Linked DNA regions of Homo sapiens: region 2 is linked to region 1. The links are contacts of gene promoters, found by promoter capture Hi-C in blood cells and fetal thymus (Javierre and others, 2016). All regions are on one chromosome and are shown on one strand. Each heading gives the region's core, a stretch centred on a gene start or on the middle of the fragment in contact. The rest is flanking DNA. Distances are from core to core; before and after follow the strand shown.

Region 1 (4,365 bases), core at 435-2,934:
TCTTGTTTTGGCTGATCATATGCCATGGTATGGATAGAACACATTTTGCTTATTTATAACTCAGTTACCTTTGTGTTGCAGAAGATGCTCATGCTTCTGTCTCCTTGTTTCCAGGCCACAGAAATAAGCACCTAATTGGGGGAGGGGAGGAGAGGGACTTACTGAATATTTTTCAAATCTTGATTTTAATAATTTTTGGCTTTCTGAATTCAAAGTATTTTGATCAGTAAATTGGTCTTTTTAATACCCCTTTTAAAAATTACAGCATCATGGAGGAAACTTCATTTGGGTTGTGAGAATAGGGATTTAAGGGGGAAAAAGTCGTACTCTAGGGTCTGACAGGGCGAAAGGACACTTTGTCATGTGACATGTTTTTCTTGGATTGGTCCTGAGATAGAGTAAAGCAAAAAGCTGGTTCCTGCGGGTTGTGACAGAGCAGTGGATTGACCTTGTTTATTCACTTGGTTCATTCGCCCTTTGTGTCACAGGGCCCTAAATGGGTCCCAGGTAGCGAAATATTAGCTTATCTAATTTGTATCCTTTCACACTCCTTAAACACATGTTCAAGGAAACAGGAAAAAATGCAGTGCCTGGATTAGAATAAAATTTAAGGCCTGGTTTGGTGACAGGCACCAGTACTTTTAGCTACTCTGGAGGCTGAGGCGGGAGGATTGCTTGAGCCCAGGAGTTCTAGGCTATAGTGTACAATGATGATTTTACTGGCATACAGATGAAAAAGAAAAAGATATTTGAAATAAAAATAAAAATATAGTGCACAATGACCAGGCCTGTGAATAGCCACTGCACTCCAGCCTAGGCAGCATAGCAAGATCACATTTCTCATATGAAACTTTACTAGAATGAAACTTATGGTTTATTACATAGATGTTGCTTATTCGTTGTAGGAAAAATTGAATTACAGATGATTTTTAAAACTACCAGAGCAAACCATTTAACCTATTTGTGTACATACTCCCAGATTTCTTACACACGTTGCAAAAAAAATAGATCGTACCATTCTGCTGGTTTTCTAAGCTGCTTTTTGTAAGTAATGTACTGTGAGCATCTTTTCATGGCCATAACTATTACATACAAAAGAAAAAAACAGGCTTCACAATAAATAGTTAAAAGACATTTTGACCTGAAACTAATGAAGAAGGGTTTTTTGGTTTTGTTTTTGTACCTCCTGTATAATGCTGAAATTGGTAATTCTGCAGTAAATATTAACATTTTCTGAGGATCTGCTGAAGATGAATGTGACAAAAAATAAGAAACTCCACTTTCCTCATCACACAGCCTTAATTAACATCGCTGGCTTTGTTTGAGATCAAGCAAACGTTGGCTTCAGTGTCCAAGTCTCTTCTTGGGGTCCCACGGCCTTGGGTCTGGCACCTCTGCTGGGCACCTCGCAGGGCTTCCGAGACGTGCCGCGACCCACGGGACCCCACGGAAGCTTTCTCCCACCGCAAGCTCCCTGGAGGCAGGGAAAGGAGCCGGGACCCGAGCCTAGCTGGCCTCAAGAGAAGGGCGGTGGCTCGCACGGCGCGGGCGGCTTTGCTCACTGCAGCTGGGGAGATGCAGGTTGGCCGTCCGGGCGCGGCGGCGGGAGGGGCTGCGGGCCTGTGGGGCGGGGTGGTGGCTCCGTGTTGTTGGATCCCTATGGAGATGACCCTGTCCCTGCCCCACCCCTCTCCGGAGCTGCGGCCCGAGTTGGCGCACTCGATTTTCACTGCGCGGTTCCAAGAGGAGACAGCCGCCACTGTACCGGGCCTCATAGCCACTTCCTAGAGGTAAAGCCCGTGGCTTCTGAGCCGCTAGTCTTTTTCTTGGGGCCGCCCGGGGCACATCGCCTGGGCCGGCTTAGTTTCCCAGTGCAGTCGCCCAGGAAGACCCTAAGCAGCGCTGAGGGGCGCAGGGCCCTCCCTCCGCGACCCTGGAGTCCCTTAGCAGCTCTGGAATTAACCAAGATTCTGAAGAGGCTCTGGGGAGAAACAAAATCCACGCGTAGGGTAGGGTTTGCATCGGGCCATGCCAAGTAAACTCTTACCTCCTCCAGAGAACTGATTTGGGATCGAAGTAAAGTTCTTGAACACTTTGGAAAACGCTGATTTTCATAGGTTCACACCAACTGCCTTCTTCCTTCTGACAGTTCTCTCCCTCTTTCCTCCTATGGGGTCCAAAAATGTAGGGAGTAGGGTGGGGGCTGGGTTGGGGGAATGAGGGAGGAATACAAAAAATCTACTGTGAATATAGGTCTTGGTTATAAGGATAGCTCTAAGAGTTAATATGCTAAGATTTGATGAGCAGGACAAATAAAACAGTGGTACTTTAAAATATCGATTTAAAAATACCGATGCTGTGCTTATTAATAAACTTTGCATATGTATCAGAACACAATATCCTGACATCATTGGTGTTAAAGTTCACTGCAACCCATGCAATTGTATCCAAGCCTGTTAAAGTCTGTTCTGCAGGAACTGACATTTGTGCTCCACAGAAACCTCAAAAATCATGCTCTACAAACACTTATTTCAGTGGGAGGAAGAAGGGTTAAGGACTTGGAAGTTTTATAGCAACAGTTGCATCTTGTTTGTTACAGCTTTAGTTTTATAGCTTTAAACTTATAAATCAGTGAGCACATCCACCATTTGAAAATACCAGCACAAGTATGGTATTTTCTATCACCGCCTGTAAGATCAATAGCCCAGGTTTCCTCAAAACACGCCATTATTTTCATTATCCATTGCTTAGTGTGTACTTAATAAAAATTATATACTGGCATGTAGTTTTACATGCCCTAAATGTGGGACATTTAACTCAACTGGAATTGTCTTTCATTTCTGTTTTTTCACCAATCACACTTACTTTTCTTCTACTCCCGTTCTTTTGTGCGATCTTTAGAACCAGATACCTTTTTGGAGGCATATTTAAGGAAGTAAATTTTTGATAAATAAAGGAATCATTGCACAATTTGCATGTGTGAATTGCAGAAGTACGCGCATGTAGGTACATACCTCTGCCGAGGAGCAGTGTTTTAATTTCTAAGCCACTCTGTCTACTGTAGTGGAGAAGGACCAGACTAACTTGCATTTCTCCAGCTGTATAACAGATAACCTGTGGAAACACAGTTAATTGACATCATTGCTCTTCTGTGTGATCCCAGTGAGGATTTAGCTCTCTATATGGGCTGGCAATTGTTCAGCCATTTCATCTTTTAATCTGGCTTTGGTTGTTCTGAGAGGAAAAAAAAAACAAAAAACTTTTTTCTCTTTACTCTCACACACTCAGTACAGCCCTTCACCTCTTGTCACCAAAATGTATGGGAATTTCTTCCCACCGACAACCAATTCTCCAGTGGCCACCAACTCTACGTCCTATAATTTAACCCAGTTCTGACACTGTGTACCTGGAGTTAGTGTCAGATCCCATACGTTCAGGGCTCAGTCCCAAAAGACTGCCCCCCACTTCAAATGCCAATCACAAGTCCCAGGTTGTGACTATATGTTGTTTATGATTAACCAACCAGTTACAAATCTGGATTCCCACAAGCCCCTCCTCCGGTTTGATTAATTTGCTAGAGTGACTCACGGAATTCAAGGAAACACTTTACTTATGTTTGCCCATTTATTATAAAGGATATTACAAAGGACAGATGAATAGCCAGATAGAAGAGAGGCCCAGAGAAAGGTATGTGGGCAAGGGTGTGGAACTTCCATGCCTTCTCAGCCCCTCCACATGTTCAGCTATCCCAAAGATCCCTGAATCTTGTCCTTTGGGATTTTAATGGAGGATTCATTCATAGGCACAATTGATGACATCATTGGCCATTGGTGATCACTCAACTTGAGCCCTTCTCTCTTCCCCAGAGGTCAGAGGATGGAGCTGAAAGTTCCAGCTGCATAATCACATGGTTGGTTTCCCTGGTAACCAGCCCCCATCCTGAAGCTATCTAGGGGTCCACCAAGATTCACTTCATCTGAACAAAAGATGCTCCTATCACCCAGGAAATTCCAAGGGATTTCGGAGCTCTGTGTCAGGAACTGGGGTCAAAAACCAAATATTAGAACAAAAGATTCTCCTAGCATCCCTATCTACAAGAGTTTTAGGAGCTGTATGTCAGGAACCAGGGACAAAGATCAAATATATATATTTCTTATTATTCTACCATATCACAGGTTGTCACACAACAGGCCCCATCCTTCTTTTGACTAAGCATGGAAGTGCCAATGTCAATTTCCGAGTTCCTCATCAATATACCAGTTGTAAAGGATAGTCAGCCACGACATAGAAGTGTATTTCCAAATACATCCGTAGCAGTTGTTAAAGCAAACTAAATATGGCCTAAGATGGACTCTGTACTTTTAT
Region 2 (4,122 bases), core at 1,120-3,619, 560 kb after region 1:
AGCGGAAGGACAGATTGGGCAGAAGATGAACTTCAATGCAGCCTCAAGAAAGTCCTCAGTTCATCCATGGGAAGCTCCTAGGGTGGTCTCCCAGAATTGTCCCAACTTGACGAGAGAGCCAGGCCTTTATTCCAGACACTGTATGCAGGCTGCCTCCAGAAGGGGTGTGACCTTGAGCAAGGTGGTGAGGAAATTCCAGAAGAAGGTGTCAGTTGAGGGCCATTTGCTGACAGTATTCCCAGTAATGGAGGGAAGAAGTTCTTCAGTCCTGAAGGGGGATTTGAGCAGCACTTCACAATGTCCATTACTTACTGTAATATTGGTGCAAGACAATGCTAGAAGCCTTATCCAAGGAGAAAAAAAGTGAATTTTAATACAGACATGTTATATCTCTCATATTGTTTCCTGAAAAGATCATTTTTAAGTGACTTTGAAAGTATACATAAAATAGAAGTCCCTCCCAAACATATACTTCAGGAAAATATTTAAAAGCAAGCAAGCAAACAAACAAAATACAGTGGAGATGAAAGTTGTGTTAGTATTAGTATGATTAGTCAAGATAATTTTGTTTCATGTGTTTGATCACAATTCAAATTAGTTCTGGAAGGGAAAATTTTATTGTCTCTCGTAACCAAACTTCAGGAAGGGTTAAGTTGCACCTAGACCTCAGGGACTCAGATAGTAACAGATTACCTTTTTGTTTCTGCTTCTTTCTTCATATTTTCTGTTGATACGGTTTGGCTGTGTCCCCACCCAAATCTCATTTAGAATTGTAGTTCCCATAATCCCCATGTGTTGTGGGAGGGACCTGGTGGGAGGTCATTGAATCATGGGGGCAATTACCTCCATGCTGTTCTTGTGATAGCTGAGTGAGTTCTCACGAGATCTGATGGTTCTCTCTGCCACCATGTGAAGAAGGACGTGTTTGCTTCCTCTTCTGCCATGATTGTAAGTTTCCTGAGGCCTCCACAGCCATGCTGAACTATGAGTCAATTAAATCTCTTTCCTGTATAAATTACCCAGTCTTGGGTATATCTTCTTAGCAGTGTGAATACAGATGAACAGAGTGTGTATTCTCCCACACTCACTTCTTTCACACGGCTGGAAGTATGGCTAACAGCAGTTTACAGGCTCATAGTTTCATCACTAAAGAGGACTTAAAACTTGATCTCTCTGTTGTCAAGTTAAAAGCTCCTGGGGGAGGGGGAGGAATGCAAATTAAAACCACAGTGCAATACCACCTTACTCCTTCAAGAATGGCCATTATTAAAAAGTCAAAAGCAACAGATATTGCTATGGATATGGGGAAAAAGGAACTTTTATGCAGTGCTGATGGGAATGTAAATTAGTACAACCTCTATGGAAAACAGTATGGAGATTCCTTAAAGAACTAAAAGTAGATCTACCATTTGATCCAGCAACCCTACTACTGAGTATCTACCCAGAGGAAAAAAAGTCATTACATGAAAATAATCTTTGCACGTGCATGTTTATAGCAGCCCAATTCACAATTGCAAAGATGTGGAACTAGCCTAAGTGCCCTTTGACTAATGAGTGGATAAAGCAAATGTGGTATATATACACCATGGAATACTACTCAGCCATTAAAAGGAATGAAATAATGTCTTTGCAGCAACTTGGATGAAGCTGGAGGCCATTATTCTAAGTGAAGTAACTTGGGAGTGGAAAACCAAAAACCATGTGTTCTCATTGATAAGTGGAAGCTGAGCTGTGAGTACGCAAAGGCATACAGAGTGATATATTGGACTATAGGTACTCAGAACAGGAAAGGTGGAAGGGGGGTTAGGGATAAAAAACTACACATTAGGTACAACGTACACTACATGGGTGATGGGAGCACTAAAATCTCAATTCACTGCTACATAATTCATCTGTGCAACAAAAAACTATTTGTGCCCCCAAAATTACTAAAATGAAGAAGAAAGGAAGAAAGCTAACTCCTGTGGGAAGGTTTCTGTTGGGTCAGTGTTATCCACAGACCAATTAGCTGCAGCCAGAGGGTAAGATGAAAGTGTGATGAATGTTTCAACTGGGCCCATCTGGGCACCCCTAGCCATTCACTGTGCCCAGGGCACATAGGATTATGGGAATTTTCACATGGACGTATGTAACTAAAGTGAAAAAGTGGCATTTTGTGGAAGGGTAGGACAAGCAATGAGTAGACAGAACAGAAGATGTTCACGGCCATATATTAGAGTTTTCTTATCTTCCGTGTTTGAATCTTGTCAGGCTGTTTTTATATTCTTTTTGGCTTTGTCATACGGACCAGTGCATTTATTATGGAAATAGATTATATAGCTATCAGTAATTTGTTCATAAATATTAGATTCTGTTCATTTTGCACAGAGATTAATCACCTGCCAAAATGTACATGATTTTCTTGGTGCAGAAAAATTACTTATTAGTCATATTAACAAGGGAATATCAAACATATTTTGAAGGGCTAGAAATGAAGACATAATGACCATATACTTCTTTTTAATAGAATATTTATTTATATTAACAAATGTTGCTTTATAGAAGACATTTCAACCTTAATCAAGTAAACCCTCTCTGAGTGATTTATGATATAATTTTGTTAGCTATATATGTCTTTATTATATGAAGAAGATTTGGAAAAAAAAAAAACTTTAAAAAGAGTCCCTGTCAATTACAGCTTAAAATCTATGCCTTGAAACAGAAATTTTAGAAAAGGTCTGCTTCGCTGTTAACTCTTCTGGTGATGGAGTTGTCAGTTTAATATCCATTTCACACCGAGGTGATTAAGTCAATTGTGATAATTCCACCCCATGGTAAAACCAATCCCAGTGGTTGGTTGGTTCAGAAATTGGTCCATGACATGATACATGAAGAAAAGGATGGTTCTGGAGAAAGTTTTCTTTTCCCTACTTGTCACGTGAGCTCTGCTCATGCCACCTGTCACCGGTCCACGGTGCGGCCAACACTGACGACAGCCCAGGAGAGAGATGAGAGAAGCCTGAGTCTTTGTGGACATTATTGATCAGTGAATTAATCAACCCTGAAGCCTGCCCTTGCCTTCTTGACTTTTGACAGATAATAAATGTATTTCTCATGGTTTAAGCCAGAATCAGGATTTCTATTATTTGCAGCTAAAAATTTCTTAATAGATATGATTGCAAAGTAGAAGAGAGAAACTTATTATCAAATAATTGTAATACTGTGTACGTAATCCATACAAACAGAGGTATTTATAAGGTATAGGGGTGCTGCAAAGTAGGGAGGTATATGAGGAAGTTTCTCAGAGAAGAAGATACTTAAGGTGGGTATTGAAGGACATTTCAGCAAAGGAATGAAGATGAGGAAGTGCCTTTTGGGCAGAGGGAGCAGCATGTGCAAAAGCACAGAGTAATAAAATAGATATTCTCAAAATCCCTCAAGTTAGACAAATTACAAAAGGCATAGACACATCTTACAGGAACTGTGGGTATGGTGGGTGCTAATCAGGAAACCAGGAAGTTGCCCGGGACAGATGTGTCTTCCCTCTCCATCTATCTTGATTTAGCACCAGATGGTCTCTTACTATTGCTTTGTTCAGGCAATGTGTTCCACTCTCCCGCTGACTTCTGCAAACCAGTTTCTCTGCTCTTCAGTATGAGTGCATGGCTTCCAGAGGACATTACAGGGTCAATATTAGATAATTTCACTAAAAACACCTCCATGCTTTCTTTGACTATAGTTTCTCTGTCTCTTTGTTGGAGTTTTCCCGGCCAGCCAATGTGCTAGCCTTTCCTGACAGCTACTTGCCCATAGTCCAATCTGCTGTATCATTGGGAGACAGGGTCATTATGGTATAAACATGGCTGCCCAGATTCACCATTTCAGTTGGCCTGAGCTAGTGCAAGGACTTTGCTCCATAGCGTATAATACCTGGGGGTTCCACAGGGAAGATGCTACAGATGCTGGCACTCGACAGCTGGACCCTGGAAGCACCTGGAGGCAGTCGATAGTGGCTATCACCTGGGAACCTTGGCTGCTGCTGCTGGTGGACGCACCTACACATGGCTTTTCCCTGTGGCATGGCTTCCTTACAGCATGGCCGTGTCAGGGTAGCTGGACTTCTTATATTGTAGCCCAGAGCTC

Evidence for each region. The method cuts DNA at HindIII sites, captures the fragments that hold promoters and counts their contacts. A CHiCAGO score of 5 or more calls a contact.
Region 2: a fragment that was not itself captured here is called in contact with the fragment with the promoter of ECT2L in region 1 in 2 of 17 cell types (megakaryocytes and M2 macrophages); the score reaches 5.8 in megakaryocytes.

The regions. Positions count from the first base shown.
Region 1 is chr6:138,794,403-138,798,767 of GRCh38, forward strand. ECT2L (epithelial cell transforming 2 like) reads left to right here and starts at 1,685. Exons shown (of 22, transcript NM_001077706.3): 1 at 1,685-1,790. The HindIII fragment of the contact is 4,734 bases long and covers 1,452-4,365 here.
Region 2 is chr6:139,357,872-139,361,993 of GRCh38, forward strand. No RefSeq gene overlaps it. Among named protein-coding and RNA genes, the nearest start is that of CITED2, 15 kb to the right of the region's middle. The HindIII fragment of the contact is 9,947 bases long and covers 1-4,122 here.